Regions from separate parts of the Homo sapiens genome. Here region 2 is linked to region 1. The links are contacts of gene promoters, found by promoter capture Hi-C in blood cells and fetal thymus (Javierre and others, 2016). All regions are on one chromosome and are shown on one strand. Each heading gives the region's core, a stretch centred on a gene start or on the middle of the fragment in contact. The rest is flanking DNA. Distances are from core to core; before and after follow the strand shown.

Evidence for each region. Contacts are between HindIII fragments. The CHiCAGO score rates a contact against its expected background, and 5 or more counts as called.
Region 2: a fragment that was not itself captured here is called in contact with the fragment with the promoter of LY96 in region 1 in 1 of 17 cell types (fetal thymus); the score reaches 5.1 in fetal thymus.

What each region holds. Positions count from the first base shown.
Region 1 is chr8:73,987,347-73,994,468 of GRCh38, forward strand. It overlaps LY96 (lymphocyte antigen 96), which reads left to right and starts at 4,046. Exons shown (of 5, transcript NM_015364.5): 1 at 4,046-4,208. The coding sequence starts at 4,097. RefSeq lists enhancers at 4,288-4,387, 4,758-4,827. The HindIII fragment of the contact is 3,298 bases long and covers 779-4,076 here.
Region 2 is chr8:74,312,801-74,319,922 of GRCh38, forward strand. It overlaps JPH1 (junctophilin 1), which reads right to left. Exons shown (of 6, transcript NM_020647.4): 2 at 2,061-2,820. Among named protein-coding and RNA genes, the nearest start is that of JPH1, 5.2 kb to the right of the region's middle. The HindIII fragment of the contact is 1,108 bases long and covers 3,541-4,648 here.

The sequences.
Region 1 (7,122 bases), core at 2,796-5,295:
GGCCAGAAGTTCGCGACTGGCCCTGGCAACACAGTGAAACCCTGTCTCTAAGAAAAAACTAAAAAAATTAGCTGGGTATAGGGGTATATGCCTGTAGTCCCAGCTACTTGGAGGCTCAGGAGGGAGGATTGCTTGAGCTTAGGAGTTTAAGGTTGCAGTGAGCTGTGATCATGCCACTGCCCTCCAGCCTGGGTGAAAGAGGTAGATCCTGTCTCACAAAACGATAAATACATATAATGTTATGAGCTTATGGATTTAAATATATTAAAGTATTTCAACTTATTGCAGTTACTATCTTATTAATGTTCACATAGTTATGGAGATAGGCTAAATAATGGCAAAAAATGTTCACCTTCTAATCACTGGAAGCTGTGAATATTACCTTACATGGCAAAAGGAATTTTGCAGATGTGATTAAATTGAGGATTTTAACTCGGATTGTGCTGAATTACCCAGCTGGGTCCATTGTAATCACTGGGGTCCCTATAAGAAGGAGGCATGAAATCAGAGCAGAAGGTGATGAAATGGGCTGGGTGCAGTGGCTCAGGCATGTAATCCCAGCACTTTGGGAGGAGGAGGCAGGTGGATCACATGGTCAGGAGTTCAAGACCAGCCTAACCAATAAGGTGAAACCCCGTCTATACTAAAAATACAAAAAGTAGCTGGGCGTGGTGGTGCGTGCCTGTAGTCCCAGCTACTCAGGAGGCTGAGGCAGGAGAATCACTTGAACCCGGGAGGCAGAGATTGCAGTGAGCTGAGATCGCATCACTGCACTCCAAGCTTGGCGACACAGGGAGACTCCACCTCAAAAAAAAAAAAAGAAGAAGGTGATGGGATGATGGAAGCAGAGATTGCAGAGACTGAAGCGATGCATTTTGAAGATGGAGAAATACAAGGATTGTAGCTCTAAAAGCTGAAAAAAGCAGGGAGACAGATTCTTCCCCTTAGTCTCCAGAAGGAACCACCTCTGTTGACACCTTGACTTTAGTACAGTGAAACTGATTTCAGACTTCAGACCGCCAGAACTGTAAGAGAATATATTTACAGTTTTTTGTTTGTTTTTTGAGATGGAGTCCTGCTGTGTCTTCCAGACTGGAGTGTGGTGGTGCAATCTCTCGGTTCACTACAACCTCTGCCTCCTGGGTTCAAGCAATTCTCCTGCGTCAGCCTCCCGAGTAGCTGGGATTATAGATGCCCACCACCATGCTTGGCTCATTTCTTGTATTTTTAGTAGAGATGGGGTTTCACCATGTTGGCCAGGTTGGTCTTGAACTCCTGACCTCAGGTGATCTGCCCGCTTTGGCCTCCCAAAGTGCTGGGATTACAGGCATGAGCCACTGTGCCCAGCCTATGTTGTTTTAAGCCACAAAATCTTTTGGCAATTTGTTACAGCCATTATAGGAAACTAGAAACACCTATCTTTGCTCAGTGGAACCGTCTTCAAATTGGTTATCTAATATAACAAAGTGTTTTAGGCTCATTTTGTACATTTTCTACCCCAGACTCCAAGGAGTCCTGGTTGCTTATAGTGGGAAATGGTATTTTGAGACCACTAAGGGTGTTCATGGGTGGTTGTCTTTTTTTTTTCCATCTTTTAAATTTATTTTAAAATTGTGTTTTTTAAAGAATTTACCATCTTACCCAGTTTTAAGCATAGAGTTCAGTGGTGTTAACTATATTCACCTTGTTGTGCAACAGATCTCTAGAACTCTTTCATCTTGTCAGCTTGAGACTCTATGCCCATTGAACAACTCCCCATTTCCCCCTCCTCCCTTGGACTTTTGCCTTTTTGAAAATGGCAGGGCCAAGAGCCACGGCTCAAACCTGTGGTCCCAGCTGAGCCCAGGAATTTGAGGCTGCAGTGTGTTATAATCACACCTAAGAATAGCCATTGCACCCCAGCATGGGCAACACAGTGAGACTTTATCTCTAAAAAAATGGAAAAAATCACACTTCTGTTGTAAAATATTTTTACCAACGTATGATTATTTTCTTCTTAAGTGTGCAGATTTTTAGGCCAAAACTCCATGCCATTTTTGGCTGCTAACCCTAAGCTATATCCTGTAAAGGATTTCAAGTAGCAAGATATCTAAAGGAATAGCTGTCTTTCTAAAATGGAGTGAGAGTTTTGAAATGAAATACATGTCATAACAAAAGGATGACATTTCATTATTAGGACTCAAAATGTTCTCTTGAGCTCTAGCTTGTTGTAGGTGAATACATTATTAAGACTGGTGGAGTCCCTGCCCACAGCACAGAATTACAGCTAGTGTCCCCTGTTTGGGGTCTTATCTGGCCCTGTTCTGTCCTGTAACTAAACCTGCTGCTGAAAAGAAATAGTTTCCATGAGACTGTTTACTTCAGATCTATAGGTGCAGCTCTCTGGGCCATGATAATTTGATTTGTTGTTGTTATTGTTGTTTTTTGAGATGGAGTCTCGCTCTGTCTCCCAGGCTGGAGTGCAGTGACATAATCTTGGCTCACTGCAAACTCCACCTCCTCGGTTCAAGCAATTCTCTTGCCTCAGCCTCCTGAGTAGCTGGGACTACAGGCACTTGCCACCATGCCTAGCTAATTTTTGTATTTTTAGTAGAGACAGGGTTTCACTATGTCGGTCAAGCTGGTTTCAAACTCCTGACCTCAGGTGATCCGCCCACCTTGACCTCCCAAAGTGCTGGGATTTACAGAGGTGAGCCACTGCGCCTGGCCTGTTTGTTTGTTTTTGAGACCGAGTCTCACTCTGTTGCCCAGGCTGGAGTGTAGTGGCCCAATCTTGGCTCACTGCAACCTCTGCCTCCTGGGTTCAAGCGATTCTCCTGCCTCAGCCTCCCGAGTAGCTGGGATTACAGGTGTGTGCCACCATGCCTGGCTAATTTTTATATTTTTAGTAGAGACGGAATTTCACCATGTTGGCCAGGCTGGTCTTGAACTCCTGACCTCAAGTGATCCACCCACCTTGGTATCCCAAAATGCTGGGATGACAGGCATGAGCCACCGTGCCCAGCTGAGAATTTGTTTTATAAAGCAGGAGGCCCCATCCTCTGGGGGCCGTGGACCAGTACCAGTCCATGGCCTGTTAGGAATCTGGTTGTGGCTTGTTAGGAAGTGGGCTGCACAGCTGGAGGTTAACAGCAGGTGAGCGAGCATTACCACCTGAGCTCCAGCTCCTGTCAGACCAGCAGCAGCATTAGATTCCCATGGGAGCAGGAACCTTGTTATGAAGTATACAAGCGAGGGATCTAGGTTGCGTGCTCCCTATAAGAATCTAATGCCTGATGTTCTGAGGTGGAACAGTTTCACCCTGAAACCATCCCTCCCCATCCCCTCAGTCCGTGGAAAAATTGTCTTCCATGAAACTGATCCCTGAGGCCAAAAATGTTGGGGACTGCTGTTATACAGAGCTGTAGGAGAGAAGAATAATGCAGAGGGAAAAGGAGTGCCTGTCTGTTGAGACTTTCAGGGGGACCTAGGGACTGGTTTTGTTACAGTTGACTGGGAATTGTCTTGTTTATTTTATTTTATTTTTCATTTAAAAAATTTTTTTGAAATGGAGTCTTGCTCTGTTGCCCAGGCTGGAGAGCAGTGGTGCCATCTTGGCTCACTGCAACCTCTGCCTCCCAGATAAAGTGAAGCTCCTGCCTCAGCCTCCTGAATAGCTGGGATTACAGGCATGCACTACCACACCTGGCTAATTTTTGTATTTTTAGTAGAGATGTGTTTCATCATGTCAGCCAGGCTGGTCTTGAACTCCTGACCTCAAGTGATCCACCTGCCTCAGCCTCCCAAAATACTGAGATTACAGGCATGAGCCACCGTGCCTGGCCAAAGTGTCTTGTTTTATTTTTAAGTCTTTGATCACTCTCATTTACAGTAAGTGTTTGAAGAGTACATTCTAAATCATTTTTCTCTCTTCCTTTACAGGAAGTGCTCAAATGTTGAGCACACACACACAAAAAAAGAGGAAACAGTTGGATAGGAACTCAGAAATCATGTGACTGATGACTAAGTTAAATCTTTTCTGCTTACTGAAAAGGAAGAGTCTGATGATTAGTTACTGATCCTCTTTGCATTTGTAAAGCTTTGGAGATATTGAATCATGTTACCATTTCTGTTTTTTTCCACCCTGTTTTCTTCCATATTTACTGAAGCTCAGAAGCAGTATTGGGTCTGCAACTCATCCGATGCAAGTATTTCATACACCTACTGTGGTAAGTAAAACCGCAAAACAAATAATTGTAGCATCAACTATTTTGAGGGTAAGTTTTCACGAGAACCGTACACTGTTGTGGCTGGAACACACGAAACATCAGTGTGTTCCAGCTGCTGTGGCGGACGCTGCCAGCAGGAAAAGCAATAGCTGGCAGCTGCCCCATGAGAATGTTCTCGACCACTCACAGAGCTTGTGAGTCTCTAAACTGTGTTGTGCTTGACCTCCAAGTGCTTCTGTTCCCTGCGTCATCTTTCTCTACCCTGAGCCCAGTTTTTGGTTCTGCCCATTTTTAATAAAACCATCTGCTTCTGAGCTTTCACCTCAGCCTTGACACTTACTAGTTCTTCTTCTTGAGATGGTAGAGCAGTCCCAGCTGCTTCCTGGAGTTGATTTCTGCTCTAAGCTGTGACTCTTGAGTGCTCTTGGAATCATCCCCCTCACTGGATGAAAGCCTGGTTCTGTCACTAGCTGTGTGACCTTAAGCAAAGTACTCCAGCCTTTTTAGCACTGAAGTGAAAGTGATTTTATAGTCTACTTGATAAGGGTGTTGTGAGGTGAAGTTTTTTAGCATAGGGTCACATAGAGACAATAATACTCTTAATTTTTTTTTGGAGTCAGCCATACCCTAATACTATTCACTGGCTGTGTCACTGTCCCCTGCCCCAGCTGCTCATTAGCAAGTGTCCTGGGATCTGAAGGCACAGTGTCAGGCCTGACAGCTGTTTTGGTTCGGTACTTTCCACCGTGCTGCTTACCATGGGTTGGCTGCCCTTTTCCACCCACTAGCAATAGCTGGGAGGTTTAAAGTGGTGCTTCCCAAAATACCAGTTCTTTGAGATTCTTTTGGGAAAATAGGATCTATGACCTAATCATCTGGGAGAGATTTACAGATGTACTTTGGGTTCTGAGAAGTTCTGCAATAAAGGCACCTGTTTAACCACATTTTCAATTTCATTTGTTGTTTGTTTGTTTGTGTTTTAGTCTGGAGTGTATGTTAACTCTCTTGAGAAACATGCTCTGCCAAATGCTAATATAAAGTGACTTTCGGGAAATTGGGATAATTGCCACATGTGAGGAGGAGACTTAGGAGTGTGGCCAGTCACACACCATGGCCCTTCTCCTGGTGGGTTGCACTGAATTCCCTCCAAACGTATGTCTAAAATCTCTCCATGCTGCAAGATCCTTTTGCATTCCCCTCTTCCAGCAAGGCTCCTACTCTACTTGGCCCCCACTTCCCTCTCCTCCTTTGGCTCTTTTGTACCATGTGCTAATTATGCCACTGTGTGTGTGTGTGTGTGTGTGTGTGTGTGTGTGTGTGTGACAGAGTTTTGCTCTGTTGCCAGGCTGGAGTGCAGTGGCGCGATTTCGGCTCACTGCAACCTCTGCCTCCCAAGTTCAAACGATTCCCATGCCTCAGCCTCCTGAGTAGCTGGGACTACAGGTGTGCGCCACCACACCCGGCTAATTTTTTTTTTTTTTGTATTTTAGTAGAGACAGGGTTTCATCATGTTGACCAGGATGGTCTCAATGTCCTGATCTTGTGATCTGCCCACCCCGGCCTCCCAAAGTGCTGGGATTACAGGCGTGTGCCACCTTGCCCGGTTTATGCCACTCTTTATATGGTTTTTATGGATGTAACATTTTGTATTATTATTTAGCTTTCAATCTTTTCTTAACAATAACTCAATTTGTCTTTTTAAAACATTTCACATTTTATCTTATTTTATCATTTATTTTTGAGACAGGGTTTTGCTCTGTTGTGCAGGCTGGAGTGAGTGGCATGATCTCCACTCACTGCAACCTCCACCTCCCTGGCTCAAGCCATCCTCCCAGCTCAGCCTTCCAAGTAGCTGGGACTACAGGCACATGCCACCACACTTGTCTAATTATTAATTAAATAATTTTTTTTGAGTTTCACTCTTGTTGCCCAGGCTGGAGTGCAATGGCATGATCTTGGCTCACTGCAACGACCGCCTCCTGGGTTCAAGTGATTCTCCTGCCTCAGCCTCCCGAGTAGCTGGGATTATAGGTGCCCACCACCACACCCAGCTAATTTTTGTATTTTTAGTAGAGACAGGGTTTTGCCATGTTGACCAGGCTGGCCTCCAACTCCTGACCTCAGGTGATCCGCCCACCTTGGCCTCCCAAAGTGTTGGGATTACAGGCGTGAGCCACCGCAGCTGGCCTAATTATTAATTTTTTTGTAGAGATGGAGTCTTGCTATATTGCCCAGGCTGGTCTGGAACTCCTGGGCTCAAGTGATTCTCCCACCTTGGCCTCCCAAAGTGCTGGGATTACAGATATGAGCCACTGCACCTGGCCTAAAATTTCACATTTTAATCATTTTTGAGTGTTTAGCTCAATTGTATTAAGTATATGCACATTGCTGTGAAACCATCACCGTTGGTGTATCTTTTGATTTGACTTTCTAGTTTTTTTTTTTACTTTGAGACAGTCTCATTCTGTCATCTAGGCTGGAGTGCAGTAGTACGATCTCAGCTCACTGCAACCTCTGCCTCCTGGGTTCAAGCGATTCTTTTGCCTCAGCCTCCTAAATAGCTGAGATTACAGATATGCACCACCATGCCTGGCTAATTTGATTTGACTTTATGAAGGAGGATCTTCCTTCCTTCTCTCTGAGAAACCCTGTGGTCCTTTCCTGCTGCCCCACTGACAAAGGGACTGTGGGCAAGCCACTGGAATACACATCTACAGCAAGATGTTGCTTGTTGCCATCCCCACTGCCATATGACTGCCTTCCCGGCCTGAGAGAATCCATCCTGCCCAGCCAAAAATGCATCACCTGTGGGAAGCACTGATTCCTCTAGGTACCATTGTGAGGGTGTTGGTGACAACAACCTCTGATTCACTGTGATGATTTCCATGAAAAAGAAGAGATAGATTTCCATTTG
Region 2 (7,122 bases), core at 2,845-5,344, 330 kb after region 1:
TGTGACTGACTTCTTTCATTTGCATAATGAATTAAGCATTTTAAACATAGCTAAGTAACTATGAAGTAACTAACTGGCTAAAAGTATAAGGTCTTAAACTAAAGATCTCTTGATTATAACTATATAATACAGTATTCCCAAATGAAATAATACTACCCCCAAAAGACTTGCAACAGAGAGAACATGGCTAGGACTTGGGTGAGGGTTTTATGATACTAGCATAATCAGAGATCATCTCTGCATTGCCAGTCGCTTTCTGTTATACAAACTCCTCCAATGGAAACTAATGATAAGTCGTTTGTTAAAGTGTTCTGCACAGGTTCATTTTTCACCTCCCAAGACTGAGCTGACTTTAGCATGTCACTAAGTTGTAACAAGAAAACATGGAAGAATCCAAGTGTGCATTTAAAATTAGAGGTCAAGGCCTAACAAATGTTTATCACTAGGTCTAAAAGTAAGCCAGCAAGATTAGATGTGCTGAGTATCTGATCTATAAGCAAACTGAAAAGCAAAGTAGATCCAAAACTGTGATCTGAAGTAAAAGATGCCTGGTAGAGAAGACAGGAGAGAGAGAGACCCTTCATTAAAGTTTGTGCTGATCAACAAAAAATAATAGCTTTGAAATGAAATTAGTTTGGGATAAAGATGAAAACCTTGAAGACTTTTAATATATAATATAATATATATCTAAAAGTAATGCAAAATATGCAACCTTATTTAGTGGTAGCCCTACTTATTTTTTAAGTAGAGGAATTAAAAAAAAAAGAACTCTAGAAGTACTAAGTTGAACCATATGATGTCACCATTTTTTTTTGTACATTAAAAAATTTGAACATTGGAAATTTCATATGGCTCCATCAAAAAAAAGGGAGGTTCATTAATTCAATGCCAATAACAAAAACCTGAAGACATGCTAACATTTTGTGGTTTCAAAAGGGCGTTTACTTCTGTGGAAGAGTGTTATTGAAGCAGAAACAGGATTTTTAATATTCTATGCTACATTTATGCTTCAAGTCTTACAAAGCTGTGGCTAGTCAGTACTCACTTAAATAAGACTAAAAATAAAATTTTCCATTTATTACCACACCTTTTTCTTTTTGTCTCACCTATGATATCCTTCCCTAATAGAACTTTATTCCCAATAGATTTTTCCATCCCTCTTGCTGGATCCCTGAAACCAGCTATTAATGGTAAAACTTCAAGCACGTAGTCCTTCTGTGCCCACACATACACCCCACTTGTCAATCTATTATTCACCGGTTTTCTCCTACTCACTCCAGCCCTTCTCTACTGCTCTTCTTTCTTCCAACCTTGGCACATTGAGAGTCCCATCTGTCCATGTCAGGTTGTCAGGTTCCCTCCACCCCTTTCCTTTTAATACACCAGTGACCTAATCTCTTCTGCATAGAATGTGGCGATTCTTGTAGGTCTCTTTGCCTTTCCCATGTAGCTGTTGTTTTTAACAATGCATGCCAGATTTTGTCATGTTATTTTCCACTTTTGCCATATGTAGATTTTGGTGGCTGTCTCAAAACCAATTTTACCTATAAGACTTCATAAACAGAATCTGAATTGTATAAGCTAGGCTAAGTGTACATACCTCCGATGTAAATATCAGAATAAAGGTACACATCTATACTAAGTATGTTTCTACGTGGATTGCTATTTTCTTTTGGTACACAAAACACAATGCTTGCTATGGCAGCATTTCAGAGGTCCTTCTTACAAAAAAAAGAAAAGAAAACAGCAACTTTCCGGGCTCAGGAAGATGAGCACAGGGTCTCAGTGAACTCCCTCACGCTGTTAAATATGAGGGAAGTAATTTAGAACAGGAAGGGGAGCTCAAAGTGCCTTCGACATTTTTTGATGATGGGAAGTTTCAGAACAGTGCAGGTACATTTCTGACTTTGATTCTACTGAGTGTAATCATTTTTCACCTTTGATTTTTTAGTAGTTGTAGAAAGCATTTAGCGATGTCACTGGCAGATAGACAAACATAATATTTGATACTCCATTGTTCTGACCAACCCAGCAAAACCAACCACCCTGCATTTACTTACCTTGAATTTGCTATTTCCACTTTGGTTCTGGCCATGGCAGCTGCCCTTTGGGCGCCTTCAATTGCTCTGTCCACCTTCTCCCTAGTTTTTGTATGTCTTATTGGTATAAGCTGCTTCCTTATCCCACGGACCAGAATATTATTTTTGTATTTTCCCTCTTCTTTGGAGCCGTCAGGAAACACGGTACAGCCATATCCATGCCTCTTGTTATTTGCCCACTCCCCTTCATACTTCATGCCATTGGAGCGCTCGCTAACGCCGAAGCCGTTGCGCTTGTCGTTCTTCCACTCGCCCATGTAGGTTTCCGTGGTGGTGGCGTCCACGTGGTCTTCCACCGGGCAAAAATCACAATCTACATCGCCAAAGCTGATCGTGGAGTTGGCATCGCTGGAACTAATTCTGCTCATGGCCGCGTCGCTGCGGACAGAGCTGCGCTTGCTCGAGATGGAAGACTTGGATTCGGACTTGCGAAGTTTCATGCTTCCAAGAAGGGAGCCCCTCCGGAAGAGGCCGCCCTTCTTCTTGCCCGCTAGCTCAGCGTCTGCGTGGAAGTTGAGCACGAAACCGCCGCGGGTGCCGGCCGGGCTGTCGGCGGCGGCTGCGGCGTCGTGGAGCACGCTGCCATTGCTCTGCTCGCTGCGCAGCGAGGCCAGCGAGGTACGCAGCGGTGAGCGGATCACCGTGGCCATGCCGTAGGGCACGCTCTGGCGCACGCCGTAGCCATGCCGCATGCCTCCGGCCCACTGGCCCTGGTAGGTACCTTGGAGAGACCGCAAGAAAGCACCGTGAGTCGGGGGCAGAGCTGCACCGTCACCTGCACCATCCAGCGCACACTGGCGCAGGCCTGCCCAAGGTCAAATCTGACCCATTTCCAAGTCAACCCTGGGGGATACTTTGCATCCACTTGTGAATCCCCGCCCTGTAATTTTGGGTGTAAGGCTTTAATGTCATTGCACAGAATTTTCTAGTAGTCAGATAATTTTTGCTTTTCATTAAAATTTTATGCAAGTATTTCAGAGGAAAACCACTACTTTCTAATACAAAAAGTGAACACTGGGAAACAACATTCTCCTCTGAAATTAATGCATCAAAAATTCCTCTTGGGAAGAAGACAAGGAAACAGTAGAAGATGAAATGAATTCTATGTGTAAATTTTATTCTAATATTACTAATTTAGCTGGAAAACTGTAAAAAATGACTTTTAGGTCTATGTCAGTATAACATTCCAAGAAGTATACAGGCTTAAATCGGAATACTTGGGACACAGTCATCAAATGAACGTCTTAAATTTTCTGCTACATTCAGCATCTCTTTTTTTAGTGTAGACAAAACTGTTGAATATTCAGGATTATCATTTGAATTTGGGTGAACCTTTTTGAGCTAAGAGAGAATCGACAACCACAATATATATTATGAATACAGTGAATTATGAAAAAAATGAGTAATTTAACATTTTTGTGCTTCTAAGTGAAAAGGCCAAAGCTTTGTGCCGTATCATTTGCCAAATCTCTGCATCCTCTATGGATTTCCCTAGCTGCCACTGCATTGTGAATCACACCACAGACTAGAAGCACCCTGAGGGCAGGAATTACTTCGTATGAGAACACAAAATTCTCATGTGTCCTCTGGTCTGTGTTTGTGGATGGAGGGTGTTTGATGACTATGTTGACGGTAAAAAGCTATGGTGGCTAAAAAGTATACCCTTTACTCTTGGAGAAACTGATGTAAGGCCAGATGAAATCTTCTACTGTTACCATTTTGGACTTCATCTCAGAGGAAAGGTATATTTGACACTATCTATTAAAATGTTGATACCAGATGACTCTGTCAACAAATATTATGCTTTTTCATGATAGTCTGTCATCTAGAGCATTTGTAGTGAATTTTTTGCTACTAAATAAATAAGCAAAGACATTAAAAAATAACCTGGTACAGGTTTTAAAATAATCTTAGGAGGAAATGAATGTTAAATTAGGGAATTTAGAAGTTTCTTTTCAAAATCAATTTCCTTTAATTAAGGGTAAATTTTAATTTACAGTATCCCTCAAAAGAAGCTATCTGGAAAATTTAAAATGTAATTACTTCTGTGTTATTCATAACAATTCACAATGTCATAGAAAACAAATAATGATTAGTCTGTCTTGACCTCTTTCCATTTCTGATTATATAGATCTACCCTGCAGTCACTTTGCATTTTATATTTCCATGCACAGATTTCCATTGCATGGCACATATTCATTTTCAAAACACCGGGCAAAAATGCTAGTGGTTTTATATAACTGTGTTAACAATGGCTGGTTATTTCATTGCACTTAAAAGTTAAAACCATAATGACTCCCAAGTCAACGGTTTTGACCAATTTCAAGACTACCTTCTCTTTTTGTTCATTCTGGCATATGTGACACAGGCAATAGTAGATATACAATGAAATACTAAGTGGGTCTGGTACTGTAAATGTCATATTCTGGGTAGATGTGAAGTCTTAACTTGACATCTATGAACTTCTGAGGAGGTGGGTGGCCCACAGTTTTCTCTGAAAGATTAACTCAAGAGGATAAGATAGTCATGTAAAACATTTCAGGCTAAGAAGCTTCCTATTGAATACTGGCCATCTCCAAATACCGCCATCTTAACAGGAATGGGAATGGAATTATTAGGAAATTTTGACTTTGACTTTTCCTTTGCCTATACAGGTAAAATTTAAATTCTAGGATGAAAGTTTCACAATCTGGCTTGAAGATACTAAAATAAACCACCTTATTTTTAATATTTTGTTGGTTAAAAGAATGCTATAATCACATCCTCCTAACTTTTGTCTATAGTGACAAGTTAATTTTGCTAGAACAATTTGCAGAGATGCTGTTTGATATCAATAAGTATCTGCACTTTTAAAACACAGCCATACCATCTTGGTAAATGTTTAACACTGATGGAAAATTAACAGCTAGTTTCTTTAAACTGTTATCTCCAAAAATAAGACTAGTACAGTATTTAGAATTTCCAAAAAAGTATGGCTTGAAAATCCAAGCTGTTTAAGGCAACAGCAATAATTAGAAAGTTTAAGTCTCTGCTTAACTGTCAAATAGGGAAGGGGGGGACAAGAGCATTGGCCACATTCCTCTCCTATTTTGTTAAATCACAGTATATGAAAGAATTCCTCCACAGAATTGCTAGAAACCAATTTGCAGTCAAACTGTTAGCAGTTCATCTGAAATTTAAAATAGGTTTAGTTTAGTCAATGAACCTAGAATAAGAAAGGGCCTATTTCTTTATGAAGCAGGTGGGTTCCAACTTCTCCCTGCTGCTCAAATAAAGTTCTAATTAGTTCCTCTTGATTCCTAAAATGTAGATGCATATTTCACAAGTATAAAAATTACTTTTACCAGTTTTAAACTGTGTTCATTTGGGAGCTAATTTTTTAGATTTAGTCATTTTAACTACACAATCTTGTAGTGGAAGGCATCCAGTTTAGGAGTTTCAGTCAAATTTGCACTGCACTATGCCAAACTTCAGTTTATATGCTCCGAATGGGTATGTGCAAGTATGCATCTAGTTAACAAAACGTTGTGTTTTCCCAGATATTTTCAATAGTTTTATGACAAGTGAAAAAACAAAGTACAGATCAGAATTAGCACAAAAAATTCTGGGCACCTAGACTTGGATTTCATGAGTATGATACTAACTTATTGTTAATATTCAGGGGGTTTCTATTTCAGCAACATGTAATACACAAATCACTAATAAAATAAGTGATACGTCTCACATGGAATTACTGCTTCCTTCCTCCTCCAGTTTAATGTCACCACAAAAAAACTCGGAATCAGATTTTCCCTGAATCTGATACAGGGTGTACAGGGATGGACATGTGGCGATGGGGAGAGTGCAAACAAAAACAAGCTAACTCCTTAGTGAGAACAGCAGAAAACAAGCTAATTTTTTAGTGATATTCCTATTTTGGCCAAAACCTTTGTATGAAATAAGTTACAGCAATAAACTTGCTTTAGACTCCCTTTTTATGATTGAGAACTTTCTAATGAAATAGTTACATATGAGACAGTAGAAAATCTATTAGCATAGAGTAGACATTCAGTAGTGATTTTTAAGGTTTTTCTTCCTAACTGTAGCATATTAGATTTTTTTTTTTGGTAGAAGAAGAAAACCACAGTACCACCCAGGATGATGCCAAGTTTTAAGTTTTTTTTTAAGTTTATTTTAAAACTGAAGGCAGATTATTCATAAAATCATTCTGGAGACTTATTTGGGTTTCTACGACATGTACACAGACAGCCTCTACTGTGCTATATATATTTTGATTACTAGGTATAATGAATACTCTAAACCAAGAGAGTGTGTTTAATGAATAGTATCTTTAAAAGGAGACGATTTTTAACCTTCCAAAACTGAAGAGAACCATCCCTGGCCTTCTTAAAAGATTATAAAATAATGCACACATTTAAAACAATAAATTTTGCCTTCTACTTTTGAGCATGGAATTTAGTTATATAGTAGAGCTGGGGCCTCCAACAAAATCCAGTCACAAACTGACATATTTACAGCGCTGTCAACCAGGTACTTTATGCCCATTCAGAACATTTAAGGGTCCCAATTAACTACTGTGAAACTCGGGACTCAGCCCCACATAAAACTATTAGAGAACGTTTTTTTCTTTTAATCCATGAGAACCATATGCTTAATTTATACTGTAGGATGAAAAGATGTCCTTTTTAGCAAGTTCTACCATTCTGCCATTTTGCATTTGAAACACGGCCCAAGTGTTCTGACTAAGTGAAGTGTACAAATTGTGTAAGCTTTTATATAAGCAATGGTATAAATGGGGTTGCAGTGGGCTGGAGAAACTTTTAATTGCATCCCTTTAATATCCTCCAACTCTGAGCTGCTTAATTCCAAAAAGTGATGTCGCCTCCTACAACCCTTTTCAACTAAATATGATTATGTTTATCAGGAAATGCACTTTGCTAAAGCATAAGCTATTCATGAATATCTTTCTCAGCGTATTACACAAGGAAATTCATCAGGTTTTGACACCTGTTTCAATAATGTA